Regions from separate parts of the Homo sapiens genome. Here region 2 is linked to region 1. Evidence: promoter capture Hi-C in 16 types of primary human blood cells and fetal thymus (Javierre and others, 2016). All regions are on one chromosome and are shown on one strand. Each heading gives the region's core, a stretch centred on a gene start or on the middle of the fragment in contact. The rest is flanking DNA. Distances are from core to core; before and after follow the strand shown.

The links. The method cuts DNA at HindIII sites, captures the fragments that hold promoters and counts their contacts. A CHiCAGO score of 5 or more calls a contact.
Region 2: a contact is called between a fragment that was not itself captured here and the fragment with the promoter of DNAH11 in region 1, in 1 of 17 cell types (naive B cells). The highest score is 5.2, in naive B cells.

What each region holds. Positions count from the first base shown.
Region 1 is chr7:21,540,754-21,545,795 of GRCh38, reverse strand. It overlaps DNAH11 (dynein axonemal heavy chain 11), which reads right to left and starts at 2,757. Exons shown (of 82, transcript NM_001277115.2): 1 at 2,200-2,757; 2 at 647-790. The coding sequence starts at 2,550. RefSeq lists enhancers at 1-601, 2,934-3,435 and a silencer at 2,836-2,885. The HindIII fragment of the contact is 2,819 bases long and covers 622-3,440 here.
Region 2 is chr7:22,065,583-22,070,624 of GRCh38, reverse strand. No RefSeq gene overlaps it. Among named protein-coding and RNA genes, the nearest start is that of CDCA7L, 120 kb to the right of the region's middle. The HindIII fragment of the contact is 894 bases long and covers 2,653-3,546 here.

The sequences.
Region 1 (5,042 bases), core at 1,508-4,007:
TAGAAATGCAGAACCTCGGGCTCCACTCTAGACTGAATGAACCAACCTCTTTCACAAAATCCCCAGGCAGTTCTTATGCACATTAAAGTGTCAGTAACATTGGTTGAAGACTATTTCTCTATTTTAAGAGGAGAAAAAGAAAGTTTAAGAACCATTTCTAACACTTTCATCACCTTTTCCCATTATCTGCCATGAGTGAATCTTAGTCTTTAACTGTTAGTTTCTAACAAGTATAAAAAGGAACTGATAATACTCATTTTCAAAGTGTAAATTTGTCTCTACTCTGAATGTGAAGCTTAAAACCTGCTGCTAAGGTGCAAGAACCTATTCAAGTTGCTTTTTATTTGCTTCTATTGTGTTGGAAGGAAGAAAGGGAGAGAATGATCCCTGCAATTGCCACCTGTTGAATATTAGCATCAGTAAGCATGAGCTCCTTTCAGGAACAGTCTAGATGTTATGACTCCATCCACCTGGCTAGAGACTCCTGGCTTCTACAAGCTTTTTTTTTTTTTTTTTTTTTTAACCACCCCCATCCCCTTCCCTTCCCCTCCTAGCTCTTCTTTTTTTAATTATCGGAGTTGTCCTAAATAATTTCAAATGTCATGGAGATAAGTGAAAGCTTTAAATATTAAAGACAGACCAGTACCTCATCAAGGAAAGCAGATACATGTCCAAGAGACAACGCAGGTAACTCTCCAAATAAAACCACTTGAGAAAAGTCATTTACTCCAATGCTTTCAGTAATCTTCTTGGAAATAAAAACAAGTTTATGGTTTGCATCTCTTGGAATCTAAAACAAGAGCAAGATAATTAGTTCAAGTAGTTTTCTTGTTAACAAGCAGGATTTACTATATCCAACTTGTAGCTGTATTGCTAGCAGAAGAAACAAAACCTGGCATCTTGCCTGCCCTATAAACAAGGTCCTTCTACGGCTCTTCCCTAGTATGCAGCGAGTATACAGTTTTCTTTGTTCTTTTATAATGCTAATTTCACAGCATTACTGGTGTGGAAATATCACCTTTTAAAGGCATGCCAATTATACCAGTTCATTATACACCAAAAAAAAAATCTTATAACTAAAAACAAATAAGGAGCACGTAGGCATGTAGAAATGTTTCAATCCTAAAGGGTTATTTTTTATACTCTTCTCTGGTTTGGAAATAAGCCAAACTGAGATAAAGACAAGCCCAAGAGGTTAATTTGTATTTCTATCAAAGAATAGAACCGTATAACCAAAACATGCTAACATTTCCACAACTACTGAGTCATTCCATTGAACATTATAATAACTATTTAACTTAGGTAATACTAGAGTTGTGTTCTATCGCCTTGTCTACTGACAAACTTATTTTTTTTAAAGTTACAATTAGGAGAGTCCTAAAACAAAAGAATTCAAAATTCACAATACCATAAGGCAGCCTTCCTATTACTCTTTCTTCTCTGAGATCCTATTTCCCAACTATTACAATGACCACACCTAGTGATAAAACGACATAACATGTTAAACTGAGCATTGCGCTACTTAAAAATTGTGAATCTTGCTCCAAACTCATCATACTTGAAAAATACTAAATACAAGTGCTGTACGTTAGGTGATACGTTAACCTTTTAGTGGACAAATCATCGAAATTCAAAAAGAAAAGGAAGAAAAAGAAGAAAGGAGGGAACTGTTCCCTCTAAATGTTCAGTAAACACCCATGTGTGCGGAGATTGCAGGGGCCTTCCTTTTTAAGGACTTAATGTTTTTGCCTGGGGTGAAGTGTTGTTGGCACGTAATCAAAATACGTGACGAGTTACATGCGCTCTGCCAAACACCCCATTTTTTAAAGGATGTGACTCCAGAGTGACCCAAGAGCAACTGAAACGCAAGTTTTTTGGCACAGAAAGCCCACCTGGCGCCTAACACCCAAGCAGCTAAAGAAAGCGCTGGTGTTCTTGGGTTATCCTGGTCGAACAGGCTCAACGCGGGATTCTCGGTCAGATACAAACTGCTGACTTAGGAAACTAACCTGCAGCTGCTGAACTGCAGAGTGGGTGCACGTGGGGAGGAGTCCTGCGGGCCTCAGGATGGGGACTTCAAGCCAAGTTTGTTAAAGTGCCCGAGTGAGCGCCCCGCGGGAATCCAAAGGGGAGCGACTGGGCTGTCTCCCCTGGGTAGTTTTGTTGGATGGGCAGGTCCCCTTGCCCGTCGCCTCTTACCTCCTGGGAAGCCGCAAGGCGCCCCGAGGCGGCGAAGCTAAACACAAGGCAAGCCGGGCTGGTGCTTTCCAGAAACTCCCCAAGAACCTGCCGGTTGTCCTCGCTTTCCAAATACTGGCTCCATTTCTCCTCCGTGAACCCCAGCATCATCGCCAGGCGGCCGCCGAGGAAGCGCACCCGCGCGTCTTGGGCGAAACTCCGCGCTCTCCTGGCCGCCGCCTCCTCCTCGTTCTCCTCCTCCTCCTCGAGCTCCACAGCGCCCACTGCCTCCAGGCCGGCCCCCGAGGTTAGGCGAAGGGTCGGGGCTTCTCTGAAGTCTCGCGCCTCCCGGGCTGCCACCTGGGCTGCCATTGGGCAACCGTCCGAGGGAACGCGAGGCCGGCTGGCTCCTCACCCGAGACTCTGGGCCCCCCGAAGTGAGCGAGGACACCTCCGCAGGCGCCCACCCTCCTCCGCGGTCGCCGCGAGCGCAGACCCTAGTCTCCCACCTGCTGCTACTTAGCAGCCGCGCCACTGCGCACAGCTGTAGCCTCGCAGGCCGAAGCGAAGGCCTGGGACAAGCAGCGCGTCCCGTTTCCCGGGGGACGGTGTCCCCGCCCCAGCCCGCTGGGGGCGGAGTGAGCGCACCGCGCCACCGCCCAGTATACGCCAAGGCCAAGGCCGAGGGGAGAGGCCCTCGGGCTCTAGGTCCCGAACACGGCCGAGAAGCCGCGTGTCCGGGGTGGGTCTGAGCCCCCAGTGCGCTCGCTCCACTGCCCTCCGGCTCCTTCGCCTACTGGACACTTGGTGGAGATCCCAGCATTGGTTAAGTGCTCTGGATGAAGCAATGCTCTCTTGTGCCAAGGTCCGTGCTAATCTCTTACCTTGACTAGTTGACATAATCCGTAGAAAGCCAAGTCTCTGACTGGTCAGTCTTTGTTTTATGGGCAAGGAACTAAGTTACAAAAATAAGTAACAGAGAAGTTTCGGGGCCCAAGTTGAAGGCTGTTATTCACCTTTCCCAAGGTGTCCAAATATTACCAGAAGAGAGCCAGTCCTGCAATTCAACTTTCCTAGTTGTGGGAATCCAAGATCTAAGTATTCGAAGTCCTCCTGATTGCCATCCTCAACCTGAAACTTACTGGAACTTCAGTACACCCAGTAAGAGAACGCACAGTGCCCTTTCGTGATCTCCAAAATGTTCCGAAAATCTATAGATTTATCATTTAATTCAAGAGTAAAAAGGTCAAAGAGAAAAAGCTTCAGATTAAAAACAGTTTCATGATACTGAAATAGGATTTCACTGCGGTCCATTAGTGGCTTTCGTTGAGACTCTTATGGAAATTCTAATTATTAAAGCAACCAGAATTTTGAGGAGGAGTCCTCAACTAAACTTTTAAGTCTCCTTTGTTAATTGTTTATTTCAAACTAAAGTCTTCAATCCCCACCCCTTCCATGGGGGCTACTGAAGGACTGTTGCCCACAATAATCCATTTAATACCTGAATGTTGACAGACATTTCCAGAAGATGAGGCTTCAACAATTTTTTTCTTTGCAGGATATTAACTGCCCCTGAAAACCATCGACAAGTTTCCAGTTATGTGATCAGAATCTTGAAATAACACAGGGCCTTGGAAAACTTTGATAATGACTTCTAACCTGTCAAGGCTGCTTTATATTGTCCATAATAATCTTTGGGGCTCCCAGTTGCTGGTATACAAGGCTGGCAATCACCAGTTCCTTCTCTCCCCTCTTATATTCCAGCTTCACATCCCTGTAACCTAGAAAACCGGGAATTCTGTAAATAATAGTTGAATTAAATTGAAAGTGAATAACCACTTTCAAATCTAGCAGGAAAATTTTTTAAATGATGCTAACTTTAAAGTGCAATTTCCAAAAAGTTAACTATGTAACTCGAAATATAAGATGAAGATATGTCAAAGATTGATTTAACTCATAAATGAGGAAAGCAACAAAATGATGTAAGTTCCAAGGACAGTTCGAGAAAGAAATTTAGCAGCATTGGAGGAAGACAGGATGAGTCAGCTTGCTAGGTTCAAAACAACACTCACTAATGTCATACAGGGCAAAATAATCCTTTGTTTTTTAAAAAATAATTTGTTTTTCCAAAATAAATTACATCTGTATTGAACAAAAATCTGTAAATAAAAACGTAACTTCAGAGTTTGAGACTTCGATCAGTAGTAGTTAATGAGTCCAAAAAAGATACTTTTCCCTAAATAATTAATAATCCTTTCATTGGCCGGTGAAGCAGTGTTTCAATGTGACAGTGAATGAACATGGCTTTACCTTGTTCCCAAGTTTTATGTATTTTTTCTCAATAATAATAGCTAACATTGATCAAGTACCAATTATGTGCCATGTGCTGTGCTGAGTTCATTCATTTGTCTAACAAATCTTTACTGAATGCCTACTAAGTGCCAAGCACTGTTCTAGGTGCTGGGAAATATAACAGAAAACAAAACAGATTAAGTTTCTACCCTCATATTGGAGATACAGGCTAGATTTCTACTGAATAGAGTGGAGCTATACCAACTGAATTTGCATTCCATTTCTATTTTCTAGGTGCCTGAGTTTCCTCACCAGAAATAGGAAAAAAAAAATGGTAGATGAGACTATTTTTTAGCAAATATCTCTCCCCCAACCCCACCTTCATGAAAAGAGTATGCTTATACCTTTTTGTGCTATTAAAGTTGTGGCTGGCCATGTGACTTGCTTTGGTCCATAGGATATTGGCAGACATAACAAACAGAGGCATCGCTTCTTTTGGCTAAGATCAAGTGTAGTAGCAAACAGATGCTTGGAATGTCTTTGCATGGTGAGGCTTGCCTTCTTGTGCCTCT
Region 2 (5,042 bases), core at 1,850-4,349, 520 kb before region 1:
CTACCACTGAGTTACTGTTATGTTCCCGGCCCTGTGCTAGGCATTTCCGTTATATTATCTTGAATTAAATGCTTGTTGAGAACCTATTATTGCTTTGATTTGAGGTCATCTGACCTAAGTCAAGAGTTTTTCTCTGGCTTTAAGAGAATGTTTGGTTTTTAAATTAGACCATATCTGAACAGGCTATTAAAGTGTGCCTTGCTCTCTTTACTTTGGGTTTCTTTTGGTAAGGTGCACAAAGAAGAGTTGTGATAGACTGAAAGACTCTCAAATATGTAGCCAATAAATAAAACTGAAAATGATAGAAAGTACATTGTTAAGACACAAAAGAGTGGAGTACAGTTTTGATAGGTGAGCTGATAGTCTATCTTTAGTAGTATTATAGATTCCTTCTGTGGAATCTATAATTCTGTATCTGTCTAGTAAATGCCTTACTAGACAGATATAGAAATATATTTAGATAGATCAATCCCTTCTCTTTTCCTATAGAGATCTATAAATTTATGTATGAAAATATATTTTTCCTTGTTCATTTCATTAATGTAACTATGTAACTGTGCTGATTTTGGTGATTAGAACTGTTATTATTTTTATATCTAAGGTAGAGTCATTTGCAAGTTGGTTTATTCTTAATTATAAGCTATATCCCAAAGACCAATTTCAGGGCATGGTCTTTAACTTTTTGAGAATAACCCAGTTTGCTAAAGGTGACATGAGCTGTTACTGGAAGTAGAATTAGCATATAAGTCCATCCTTACACTGTCTGAATCACCTTGTTGGAACCAATGTGATTTTTTGGTCTAAGACATGAATGCTACCCTTCATCCTGACTGTCATGTCAAAGCATTTGAGAATAGATAGAAAAAACTGCCATACCCAGTTTGCCCTTTCAACCCCAATAATGCAGTATAGAAACTATTTACTTTTAAAAGGTTTAGCAAGCTTTGGTTTTTAGAATGTCTGATCTCAGCACCTTTGGGTTGTAAAAGAATGGATTTTCAGTCTGTGAGATTCTAAAGGCTCTTAACATCACCCATATGGTCTGCGTTGTTTTGAGTACATCTTCTATGAATGTTGCTCAAAGGGAGAACATCCAAATTCATGGGTCCTGGGCAATTTCTCCCCAGTGAAATAGAGAACTGGGATCTGTTCAAAAGCTTCAAAGGTTTTCAGCCATTATAATCATGGCTAAATGTTAAGCATGAGGAAATCAGAACAATCTTCCTCTTATCTATTCAGACAGCTAAACTAATGGTCACAAAGTTCTTTTCTGATAATGAAGAAGAACTGTCTCTTGGACAGTGGGTAGTAATTCACTCAACAGACACTGATTGCATGGCTACCATGTGCCAGCAACTGGTCTAGAGGCTTGGGCCATGTCAAGGAATAAAAAGACAAAGATCCTTTTTTTTTTTTTATAGACGGCGTCCAAGCTCTGCCTCCTGGGTTCACGCCATTCTCCTGCCTCAGCCTCCCGAGTAGCTGGAGCTACAGGCGCCTGCCACCTTGCCCACCTAATTTTTTGCATATTTAGTAGAGATGGGATTTCACTGTGTTAGCCAGGAAGGTCTCGATCTCCTGACCTCATGATCCACTCGCCTCGGCCTCCCCAAGTGCTGGGATTACAGGCGTGAGCCACCGCACCCGGCCGACAAAGATCCTTTGTCTCTAGAGCTTTTATACTAAAAGGTTTTATGTATTAAACCCTATCGCATTCTTGGCTATTTGGAAATATCAATGGAATGTAAATATTTCATTGGTCTATAAGTTGCAAACCAATAACCAGAATTGTTAGTATAAACTTTCTTCCCTTACCTCAAAGAACTCAGATACATTGAATGTATTCCGAGCTACATGTGAAATGTTTTGTTGTTCATGGGATGTCGACCCCTAAGGGTTGTACTCACTTTGTACTCACTTTGCCTTACAAAGAGTATTCAAAGAGACCAGTGGTTAGTAATAGCTAAGGAGATTCTAAAACTGACTCTATCATTCCTTTCTCTTACACTAGAAAACCAAATTTTTTGGTTTTTTGGTTTTTTGTCGGCAAAACTGTATGTGGTGTGATTACTATTGCACTGTCTGACTCCCACACTCATGTTATTCTTCTAAAATGGAAAGTTCCTCTCCCACCTCTATCCACCCCCATAAATCCTCCCTATCCACTCAATTCAACTTATCCTTCCCTCAAGGTTCCCATCTCATCCATGATAACAACCCATTCTATGCTAACCCTTGTTCATTTCCCCTTCTCTGAATCCATCACACATTTAGAGTAGTCAATGATAGCCATCCATTTATTTATTCAACATTTATTTATTGGCTACCCTGATCTGCTCCAGGCACTCCAAAATTAGATTTAATCATATATTGTCTTGTGGGGTTTAACGATAATTGTGATATGTTCATCTTGTCTTTTCAACAAAATGTGCGTTTTCCAATGTGACAAACCATGTCTGAGGCCACCATTAGCCACACAGTGCTCTGTGTGAGTTGGACAAGGAGCCTCTTCTGTGTGTGTGGCATGGAGAGAGAACTCCCTGCTTACCCCTCACCTGTGCACCTTCTGTCTGCCCTGGAACACCGAAACAACCGTATGAGAGAGCCCAAGCATTGAACACTGCCGCAGCAAAGGGAAGGCACCTCAAAGCTTGACAACTAACTCATTTTGTTTAAGATGTAGATAGTCCTCAGTTATCATTAATAACAGAATTAATCTTCCTAGCTTTGGATTAGCCAGGCTCTCAATTTCAATTCCTATATTACAAGTCCGATGTAAGGACACAGCATCGAGTCTTTGTTAAGCACTCAGTTCTCATTGGGGTGATAACAAAATTTTCCTTCCAAACCTGGACACTTGTGAGAGGAGGTGCACACCAAGACACCAAGAATTAATGGGGACTGTCACAGGCAAACTGGGATGTGTGTATCCTAATGTCTGCAGTAGTAAAATAAGGAGTACCTCTCGCTGCCCACTGTTTAAGAAGGTATCAGCTCTAGTCTCTGACGATACAGGGCAAAGGAGGACAACCTGCCTCCTACATTAGGACAGGATAGGAGATCATCAAGGCCTGTAGCCCAGTGTTCATTCAGTTTTAGAGTCGAGTGGGCTGTGATGAGTCTAACATGTAGTCCTAAATAGTCATCATACTCTCTACTACCCTGGCCCTTTTGGGTAAGTACTAGGACTTTCCGCCCCAGTAAGAGGCTGCCCCCCGCCACCTTGCAAATCCTCCCTTGTGATCCCATTTTCAGTCCTGATCACTACCATCCACCATGGTCATTTTAACAGCTCAACACCCACAGAGGTGTGGAGATATAACTCTCCAGAGAAAGAACTTCAGAGCAAAAGTCCTCTTTAGCCAATGAAGCAGCCCTTGGTATTCACTTGATAAATACTAATTGGATATCTGACTGTGAGAGAAAAACCCAGCTTCTTTCCATCCCATACTGGAGGTGGAAAGGGACTGGAACTACAGAGATCCTGTGATTTCTCTCTCCAAGGCAAAGGAAGAAGCTCCACCTTAAGATGTCATGAAAGAAGCTTGGAAGAAAGTCAGGATTATCTATTTCTTAGGAGCTTCTTTAATCTCAAGATCAAGAGATTTCACTCAATTCCAGCTTCCTTCTAAGAAAGTTTCACTCTCTAAGTCTTTCAAACGTGGAGGACGTCTTTCAGGAACTTTGAATCTATTTAAGGACATGCCAAAATATTTCTGACCCAGAACCTTTTTAGACTAGGAAACTCACATGCAATACACATACACAAGGTTCTCTATATTTATGCGTATATGTGTATCTCCTCTCTATACAAATAGACAAGCACCTTTTATCTTGATAAAGAAAGCACGTTCTATTCATAGGAAAATGGTTGGGTCAGGCTTTCTGGGCTTTTTGTTTGTGCGCCACAGGGTGCCTAATAGCACTGCAGGGGCAGGCATCCAGTGTCACGCCAACCACCTACAGCATGCGTGGTGCCAGAGGCAGCGATGAGAGCACTAATTAGAGGGTGTCAGGAAACAGGAGAGAAGGAAGGGACACACACACACACAAAAGCATGAAACTTTCCATGAAGATGGAAAGTAAAGCGGGATGGGGTTCTCCTTTTTATTTTTGGTGGGAATTCTCTGCTTTTGGACTGTACTTCCTTCAAAAGAGTACCTTCTCATTTTACAGTTTACAGCAGAGCTGGGTTTGTAGAAATTGCTGGATGATCTTTTGAACGTTGGCTACCTGCTTAAAATAAACATTGTTTCAATCTGCTTTTATCTACATATGCATCACAGTGACACCTTCTACTCTATAGCAGCCATTGCTGACAGAACGTATATTCAAGAGTCTTCATGAAGATTCCCCGGTGTTGTAAAATTGGTCCTATGGCCTAGCACTGACTGTCTTCCTAGGGACCATTTGTAGCTTTGTGTTTTCATAGACGTTACATTTTTATTTAAGTGGTCCAAGCCCCCTCACCCTGGATGGTTATGTTGATGAACAAAGTAGATTCTACCTGTTATAAAGGTATCATTACTAATGCTACTAATAAATTGCAATGACTTCCAGCATCTAAAGATTTGGATGGTTCCAGTTATACACTTGACATTATTTTCCTGGATCTGATATTGCCTATTTTCCCCTGCAAGCAGTTGTCATCTTTTCTAGTTGAGCCTTTTACAACCCTATTTGAATATAAAAATCATTTAGGAATGTTAAAAAAAAATTACCAGTGCCTAAGTCTCACTCTAGACCAGTGAAATCAGAGCCTGTGGAGAGGATGTCAGAGAATTGGTTTCTTTACAAGTTATCCAGATAATTCCAGTATTCAGCGGGGGCCGAGAACTACTAGCTGTCCTCATCACGTCTGTGAGTGGCCTGCTTGGCCCCACTATCTCCTCCTTTGCACAAAATGCCACCCACTGCTTAATCAGCCTCTTTATGATTCTTAATCAGATCACCAGGGCCAGGACCAGGGGGACCTGAATGAGACAAAATTTAATGAGACACTCACTCTCTTGCCTCATCCTAGTCCTGGCCTGCAAACCAAC